3 separate regions of the Homo sapiens genome follow, and all the other regions are linked to region 1. The links are contacts of gene promoters, found by promoter capture Hi-C in blood cells and fetal thymus (Javierre and others, 2016). All regions are on one chromosome and are shown on one strand. Each heading gives the region's core, a stretch centred on a gene start or on the middle of the fragment in contact. The rest is flanking DNA. Distances are from core to core; before and after follow the strand shown.

What was found. The method cuts DNA at HindIII sites, captures the fragments that hold promoters and counts their contacts. A CHiCAGO score of 5 or more calls a contact.
Region 2: a fragment that was not itself captured here is called in contact with the fragment with the promoter of STH in region 1 in 9 of 17 cell types (activated CD4 T cells, naive CD8 T cells, total CD4 T cells and 6 more); the score reaches 10.1 in activated CD4 T cells.
Region 3: a fragment that was not itself captured here is called in contact with the fragment with the promoter of STH in region 1 in 9 of 17 cell types (endothelial precursors, activated CD4 T cells, megakaryocytes and 6 more); the score reaches 10.0 in endothelial precursors.

Annotation. Positions count from the first base shown.
Region 1 is chr17:45,997,746-46,000,499 of GRCh38, forward strand. It overlaps STH (saitohin), which reads left to right and starts at 1,505. Exons shown (of 1, transcript NM_001007532.3): 1 at 1,505-1,949. The coding sequence starts at 1,535. The coding sequence ends at 1,921. All of the region lies in intron 9 of MAPT (microtubule associated protein tau), which reads left to right. The HindIII fragment of the contact is 3,833 bases long and covers 530-2,754 here.
Region 2 is chr17:46,288,172-46,290,925 of GRCh38, forward strand. It overlaps a transcript of LRRC37A not described here and a transcript of ARL17B not described here. Among named protein-coding and RNA genes, the nearest start is that of LRRC37A, 5.6 kb to the right of the region's middle. RefSeq lists an enhancer at 1-493. The HindIII fragment of the contact is 2,890 bases long and covers 1-2,754 here.
Region 3 is chr17:46,270,974-46,273,727 of GRCh38, forward strand. It overlaps a transcript of LRRC37A not described here. Among named protein-coding and RNA genes, the nearest start is that of LRRC37A, 23 kb to the right of the region's middle. The HindIII fragment of the contact is 238 bases long and covers 1,132-1,369 here.

The sequences.
Region 1 (2,754 bases), core at 255-2,754:
CGAGACTCTGTCTCAAAACAAAATAAAACAAACCAAAAAAACCCACCATGGCTTAGGGCCCAGCCTGATGACCTCATTTTTCACTTAGTCACCTCTCTAAAGGCCCTGTCTCCAAATAGAGTCACATTCTAAGGTACGGGGGTGTTGGGGAGGGGGGTTAGGGCTTCAACATGTGAATTTGCGGGGACCACAATTCAGCCCAGGACCCCGCTCCCGCCACCCAGCACTGGGGAGCTGGGGAAGGGTGAAGAGGAGGCTGGGGGTGAGAAGGACCACAGCTCACTCTGAGGCTGCAGATGTGCTGGGCCTTCTGGGCACTGGGCCTCGGGGAGCTAGGGGGCTTTCTGGAACCCTGGGCCTGCGTGTCAGCTTGCCTCCCCCACGCAGGCGCTCTCCACACCATTGAAGTTCTTATCACTTGGGTCTGAGCCTGGGGCATTTGGACGGAGGGTGGCCACCAGTGCACATGGGCACCTTGCCTCAAACCCTGCCACCTCCCCCCACCCAGGATCCCCCCTGCCCCCGAACAAGCTTGTGAGTGCAGTGTCACATCCCATCGGGATGGAAATGGACGGTCGGGTTAAAAGGGACGCATGTGTAGACCCTGCCTCTGTGCATCAGGCCTCTTTTGAGAGTCCCTGCGTGCCAGGCGGTGCACAGAGGTGGAGAAGACTCGGCTGTGCCCCAGAGCACCTCCTCTCATCGAGGAAAGGACAGACAGTGGCTCCCCTGTGGCTGTGGGGACAAGGGCAGAGCTCCCTGGAACACAGGAGGGAGGGAAGGAAGAGAACATCTCAGAATCTCCCTCCTGATGGCAAACGATCCGGGTTAAATTAAGGTCCGGCCTTTTCCTGCTCAGGCATGTGGAGCTTGTAGTGGAAGAGGCTCTCTGGACCCTCATCCACCACAGTGGCCTGGTTAGAGACCTTGGGGAAATAACTCACAGGTGACCCAGGGCCTCTGTCCTGTACCGCAGCTGAGGGAAACTGTCCTGCGCTTCCACTGGGGACAATGCGCTCCCTCGTCTCCAGACTTTCCAGTCCTCATTCGGTTCTCGAAAGTCGCCTCCAGAAGCCCCATCTTGGGACCACCGTGACTTTCATTCTCCAGGGTGCCTGGCCTTGGTGCTGCCCAAGACCCCAGAGGGGCCCTCACTGGCCTTTCCTGCCTTTTCTCCCATTGCCCACCCATGCACCCCCATCCTGCTCCAGCACCCAGACTGCCATCCAGGATCTCCTCAAGTCACATAACAAGCAGCACCCACAAGGTGCTCCCTTCCCCCTAGCCTGAATCTGCTGCTCCCCGTCTGGGGTTCCCCGCCCATGCACCTCTGGGGGCCCCTGGGTTCTGCCATACCCTGCCCTGTGTCCCATGGTGGGGAATGTCCTTCTCTCCTTATCTCTTCCCTTCCCTTAAATCCAAGTTCAGTTGCCATCTCCTCCAGGAAGTCTTCCTGGATTCCCCTCTCTCTTCTTAAAGCCCCTGTAAACTCTGACCACACTGAGCATGTGTCTGCTGCTCCCTAGTCTGGGCCATGAGTGAGGGTGGAGGCCAAGTCTCATGCATTTTTGCAGCCCCCACAAGACTGTGCAGGTGGCCGGCCCTCATTGAATGCGGGGTTAATTTAACTCAGCCTCTGTGTGAGTGGATGATTCAGGTTGCCAGAGACAGAACCCTCAGCTTAGCATGGGAAGTAGCTTCCCTGTTGACCCTGAGTTCATCTGAGGTTGGCTTGGAAGGTGTGGGCACCATTTGGCCCAGTTCTTACAGCTCTGAAGAGAGCAGCAGGAATGGGGCTGAGCAGGGAAGACAACTTTCCATTGAAGGCCCCTTTCAGGGCCAGAACTGTCCCTCCCACCCTGCAGCTGCCCTGCCTCTGCCCATGAGGGGTGAGAGTCAGGCGACCTCATGCCAAGTGTAGAAAGGGGCAGATGGGAGCCCCAGGTTATGACGTCACCATGCTGGGTGGAGGCAGCACGTCCAAATCTACTAAAGGGTTAAAGGAGAAAGGGTGACTTGACTTTTCTTGAGATATTTTGGGGGACGAAGTGTGGAAAAGTGGCAGAGGACACAGTCACAGCCTCCCTTAAATGCCAGGAAAGCCTAGAAAAATTGTCTGAAACTAAACCTCAGCCATAACAAAGACCAACACATGAATCTCCAGGAAAAAAGAAAAAGAAAAATGTCATACAGGGTCCATGCACAAGAGCCTTTAAAATGACCCGCTGAAGGGTGTCAGGCCTCCTCCTCCTGGACTGGCCTGAAGGCTCCACGAGCTTTTGCTGAGACCTTTGGGTCCCTGTGGCCTCATGTAGTACCCAGTATGCAGTAAGTGCTCAATAAATGTTTGGCTACAAAAGAGGCAAAGCTGGCGGAGTCTGAAGAATCCCTCAACCGTGCCGGAACAGATGCTAACACCAAAGGGAAAAGAGCAGGAGCCAAGTCACGTTTGGGAACCTGCAGAGGCTGAAAACTGCCGCAGATTGCTGCAAATCATTGGGGGAAAAACGGAAAACGTCTGTTTTCCCCTTTGTGCTTTTCTCTGTTTTCTTCTTTGTGCTTTTCTCTGTTTTCAGGATTTGCTACAGTGAACATAGATTGCTTTGGGGCCCCAAATGGAATTATTTTGAAAGGAAAATGCAGATAATCAGGTGGCCGCACTGGAGCACCAGCTGGGTAGGGGTAGAGATTGCAGGCAAGGAGGAGGAGCTGGGTGGGGTGCCAGGCAGGAAGAGCCCGTAGGCCCCGCCGATC
Region 2 (2,754 bases), core at 107-2,606, 290 kb after region 1:
CGCTGTATAACCCAGGCTGCAGGGCAGGGGCAGGATCACGGCCCCCTGCAGCCTGGACCTCCCAGGCTCACATGATCCTCCCACCTCAGCCTCCCGAGTAGCTGGGACTACAGATGTGCACCACCAGGCCCGGCTTTTTTTTTTTTTTTTTTTTTTTGACGGAGCCTTGCTCTGTCTCCCAGGCTGGAGTACAGTGGCATGATCTCGGCTCACTGCAACCTCTGTCTCCTGGCTTCAAGCAATTCTCTTGCCTCAGCTTCCCAAGTAGCTGGGATTACAGGTGTGTGCCACCACATCTGGCTAATTTTTGCATTTTTGGTTGTGCCACGTTGGCCAGGCTGGTCTCAAACTCCTGACTTCAGGCGATCCACCTGCCTTGGCCTCCCAAAGTCCTGAGATTACAGGTGTGAGCCACAGGGCCCAGCCTCTTTTCATATTTTTTAAAAAAAGTTTTAATGAGCAGTGAGGACGACCAGAGGTCACTTTCGTCACCATCTTGGTTTTGGTCGGCTTCTTTACTGCATCTTGTTTTTTCTTTTTTTTTTTTTTTGAGACTGGGTCTCACTCTGTCACCCAGGTTAGAGTGCAGTGGCACAATCTCGGCTCAGTGTACCCTGCACCTCCCAGGCTCAAGTGATCCTCCCACCTCAGCCTCCCAAGTACCTAGGACCACAGGCACGTGCCACCAAGCTCAGCTAATTTTTTGTATTTTTGTTAGAGACAGGGTTTCACCATGTTGGCCAGGCTAGCCTTGAACTCCTGACCTCAGGTGACCCATCTCAGCCTCCCAAAGTGCTGGGATTACAAGCGTGAGTCTCTGTGTCTGGCCAACATACTATTGTCTCAATATGCATTTTGCCATACTTTTTAAGTGCATCTCTTCTGCTATCCTGTAGTACAACTTACTCTTGGAAATGATCAAAGCAAACTATATTACCCTAGGGACAAACCCATTGTGATTGGCATCCACGAACAAATTTGGTGTAAAGAAATCATATCTATGACCAAGAGGGTTTCTTTCTTATTTGGAGATAAGAGTCTCACTTTGTCACCCTGCCTGGACTGCAGTGACATAAACACGGCTTGCTATAGCCTTGACCTGCCAGGCTCAAGTGATCCTCCTGCCTCAACCCCTTCAAATAGCTACAGGTGCTCACCACCATGCCCAGCTACTTTTTTTTTTGTAGAGATGGAGTCTTGCTGTGTTGCCCAGGTAACTTACCTCCTGAGCTCAAGTGATCTGCCTGCCTTTGCCTCCCAAAGTGCTGGGATGACAGTTATGAGCCACTTGTACCCAGCCATAAGAATATTTCTTAAAATCTGACTTAAAATTTTTTTAAAAAATTCTTTTAGAGATAGGGTTTCACCATGTTGGCTAGGCTGGTCTCGAACTCCTGACCTCAGGTGGTCTGCCCACCTTGGCCTCCCAAAGTGCTTGGATTACAAGTGTGAGCCACTGTGCCCAGCCAAAATCTGACACATTTATAAATTTCTACAATAATTTTAAATACCAAAAATATTCCCAAAACGTTTCATCATGATTATTTTTCTTCCTAAATCTTATAGTCTCTCAGAAAAATAACTTAGCCCACGTTTCCTTTAAAGAGTTTTTAATTTTTTTAATGAAGGGCCGAATTAATTTTATTTTTCCTTCTTTGAAAAAATTCATCCAGCACACTGGCTCACACCTGTAATCCCAGCAGTTTGGGAGGCCGAGGGCGGAAGATCACTTGCGTCCAGGAGCTCAAGAGCAGCCTGGCCACATGGTGAAACCCCATCTCTACTAAAAATACAAAAATGAGCCAGGTGTGGTGGCGCATGCCTGTAGTGCCAACTACTTGGAAGGCTGAGGTTGGAGGCTCCTTTAAGCCTGAGAGGTGAAGACTTCAGTGAGCTGTGATGGCACCACTGTGCTGCAATGTAGATGACAAAGTGAGACCCTGTCTTAAAACAAAACAAAACAAAACTTTTTTTTGGAGACAGGGCCTCACTTGATCGCCCCGGCTAGAGTACAGTGGTGCTATCATGGCTCACTGCAGGGTCGACCTCCTGGGGTCAAGCAGTCCCCTGGCCTCAGCCTCGCCAAGTAGCTGAGACTACAGGTGTGCATCACAACACCCAGCAAATTCCTTTTTGTAGAAACAGGGTTTTGCCATGTTGCCCAGGCTGGTCTCAAAATCCTGGCCTCAAGTGATCCACCCACCTCAGCCTTTTAGAATGCTGGGATTACAGGCTGTGAGCCACAACTCTCTTGGCCTATAAATGATAATTTAAGTGAATCTCTGAAGCTACAGTTTTTTGTTTCGAGATGGAGTCTCGCTCTGTCGTGCAGTGGCATGATCTCGGCTCACTGCAACCTCCGCCTTCTGGGTTCAAGTGATTCTCCTCCCTCAGCCTCCCAGGCAGCTGGGATTACAGGTGCCTGCCACCATGCCTGGCTAATTTTTGCATTTTTAGTACAGACGGGGTTTCGCCCTGTTAGCCAGGCTGGTCTCGAACTCCTGACCTCAAGTGATCGTTTCACCTCAGCCTCCCAAAGTGCTGGGATTATAGGCATGAGCCATTGCGCCCAGCCTCTGAAGCTATAGTTTTATAGATTCTAAAGCAGAGACTTCATATAGATGTCTATGAAAAGCCAAAAACAAACAAAAAACCCACAGGAAAACCTGATTCCCCACGCCAAAATTTCAAGGATTTGCCTAAAGGTAAGGTCCATCTGTACCTGAAATAAGTTTGCTGTGCCTCTTTTTCTGC
Region 3 (2,754 bases), core at 1-2,500, 270 kb after region 1:
AATCTTCTAAGAAAAGTCTTTTAGTATCTCACTCCAAGTATCTAGAAATACCTTAGAATGTTTCAAATTATTAAAAATACTTCTCGGTTGGCTCTTCCCTCCACCTCCTCAAGTACTTCATTATTTTATCCATGGAATATCCCCATTCTCACATTAAGGGCAAGAAATCTGAGACCTATGGTAATAGTTTCTTTTTTTTTTTTTTTTTTGAGAAGGAGTTTCGCTCTTGTTGCCTAGGCTGGAGTGTAATGGCATGATGTCAGCTCACCGCAACCTCTCCCTCCTGGGTTCAAGTGATTCTCCTGCTCTAGCCTCCCAAGTAGCTGGGATTACAGGCATGCGCCACTTTACCTAGCTAATTTTTTTTTTTTTTTTTTTTTGTATTTTTAGTAGAGATGGGGTTTCTCCATGTTTGTCAGGCTGGTTTCAAACTCCCAACCTCAGGTGATCCACCTGCCTTGGCCTCCCAAAGTGCTGGGATTATACGTGTGAGCCACCACGCCCAGCCGTATCATGATAGTTTCAATCAGGAAGAGTGAAAGCTGTAATAACCATGTAACTTTGTCTAACTAAGTGTGCAGAGATCTGAAAGTCCACCAGGTTGGCTCTTTAACATAAAGAAGTAGAGAGTTTGCCTAAAGGAATTAGCAGAAATAGGGAAATAACTTTTATTTGCAGATCCCAGGAAGGTAGATTACAAACAACAGCAAATCTTAGTGTCTCTAAATAACACTCTAGGCCATTTGGAATATAAAAAGGTAATTATTTTACTTCAGAAAATATCTCCAAAAGTTCACTTTTTTTTTGAGACAGAGTCTTGCTGTGTCGCTCAGGCTGGAGTGCAGTGGCACAATCTCAGCTCACTACAACCTCTGCCTCCCCAGTTCAAGCCATCCTCCCACCTCAGCCTCCTGAGTAGCTGGGACTACAGGTGTGTGCCACTTGTCCAGCTAAATTGTTGTATTTTTAGTAGAAACAGGGTTTCACCATGTTGGTCAGGCAGGTCTCTAACTCCTGACCTTGTGATCTGCCCGCTTCAGCCTCCCAGAGTGCTGGGATTATAGGCGTGAGCCACCATGCCCAGCCACAATTTTATTTAAACCTCCTGTAGAATTTGGATAGGAGAATAAAAGCTTTACCAATAGGAAAATACTTTTCATGAAATGGTTTCAAGGATTGTGAACTTGGCAGGTGAAGCATAACAGTTATTGAAAATACTTTTAGCCAAGGAAATCTACTGATGCAAATTAAATATATTTACAAGCCCAAGGCCTGTGGTAGAAACATCCTAAGAGTATCACAAATGTACAGTTTACTGCCTGGATTATTGAAAGCAAAATAGCTGTGTTATATAGATCTTAATAGCAGAAGCTTTCAAAGATTACTCACAGAAAAGCAGCTTTCAGAACTCATTATGTTCTAAAAAATGTATGTTTTTCTTTCTTTTTTATTTTTTTTGAGATGAAGTCTCACTCTTGTCCCCCAGGCTGGAGTGCAATGGCGTGATCACGGCTCACTGCAACCTCCGCCTCCCAGGTTCAAGTGATTCTCCTGCCTCAGCCTCCCTAGTAGCTGGGATTTCAGGTGCCTGCCACCATGCCTGGCTAATTTTTGTACTTTTAGTAGAGATGGGGTTTCACCATGTTGGCCAGGTTGGTCTCAAATTCCTGACCTCAGGTGATCCCCCCTGCCTCGGCCTCCCAAAGTGCTGGGGTTACAGGCGTGGGCCACCACACCTGGCCAGGAATGTGTGTTTTTCAAAAATTACTTTTGAAAGACTAAAGCCCTATAGTTGATAAAACTATAAAATGTCTTTATGTATTTGTATGGTGATAGAAACTGTAAAACACTTTATACCATTAAATACACATGAAATTAATATCTTCCTGGTCTCAGGATTTCCATAAAATTTACCCTTTTTAATTTGGCAATGCTAACAGCTACAGAAGACATATTACCACCAACCAACCGTTGCTTCATTAGAAACTGCACCAAATCCAATGTCAAAAACATTACTTTATTTTTCTAGTATGAAATGTCCTATTACATACAAAAGAATTGCTGTTTAGAATTTGCCACAATTTGTTGAAAACATAGCAATCTATTGCCTACAGGTAGGAAAGTTCTTGCTGCAACAAATTTTAAATGATTAAGCCCATATATATTTCTATATATATGAATAAATAGTGCAGAAATACTGTGACGTGATGAGATGCAGAATAATTTTATAATTCATTAAAATGTAGAATTCTTGCATCAGCACAGTGCATACAATATGTAACTTTTTTTAAAAAGTAAAAGGACAAAATAATCCATATTTAAGTATTTCCATCTTAATATTTTAAGCAAAAATGTTTTCATGTTTTCATATTGAGTGATTAGTCTCTTTAGTTTGTAAACATAGGTTTAAGTGACATCTTCATGTACAAAAAGGAATGGGCTTCATTAGATAAAATTAAGCCAGAATAACCTGTACACCTGAGCCTGTAATAAGAAAGAATTGGGAACTGTAGCAACATCTTTCTTTTAAGAAACCAAGGTCTGGGAAAGGTTTTGCATAGCAGGGAAACGTTGAAAGGAAGGAAACTTTTAAAAGCAATAATTAGATAAATTCCAGAAGTTGATAGGACAAAGCTAATATGAGTTAGAATAAAATCTAGTAGAATTTTTGCAAAGCTGCATAATCCAGCTATGGCAGATTTTATAGAAGCTATTACCACAATGCAGTAATACAATGTGTAAGAACATTGAAAG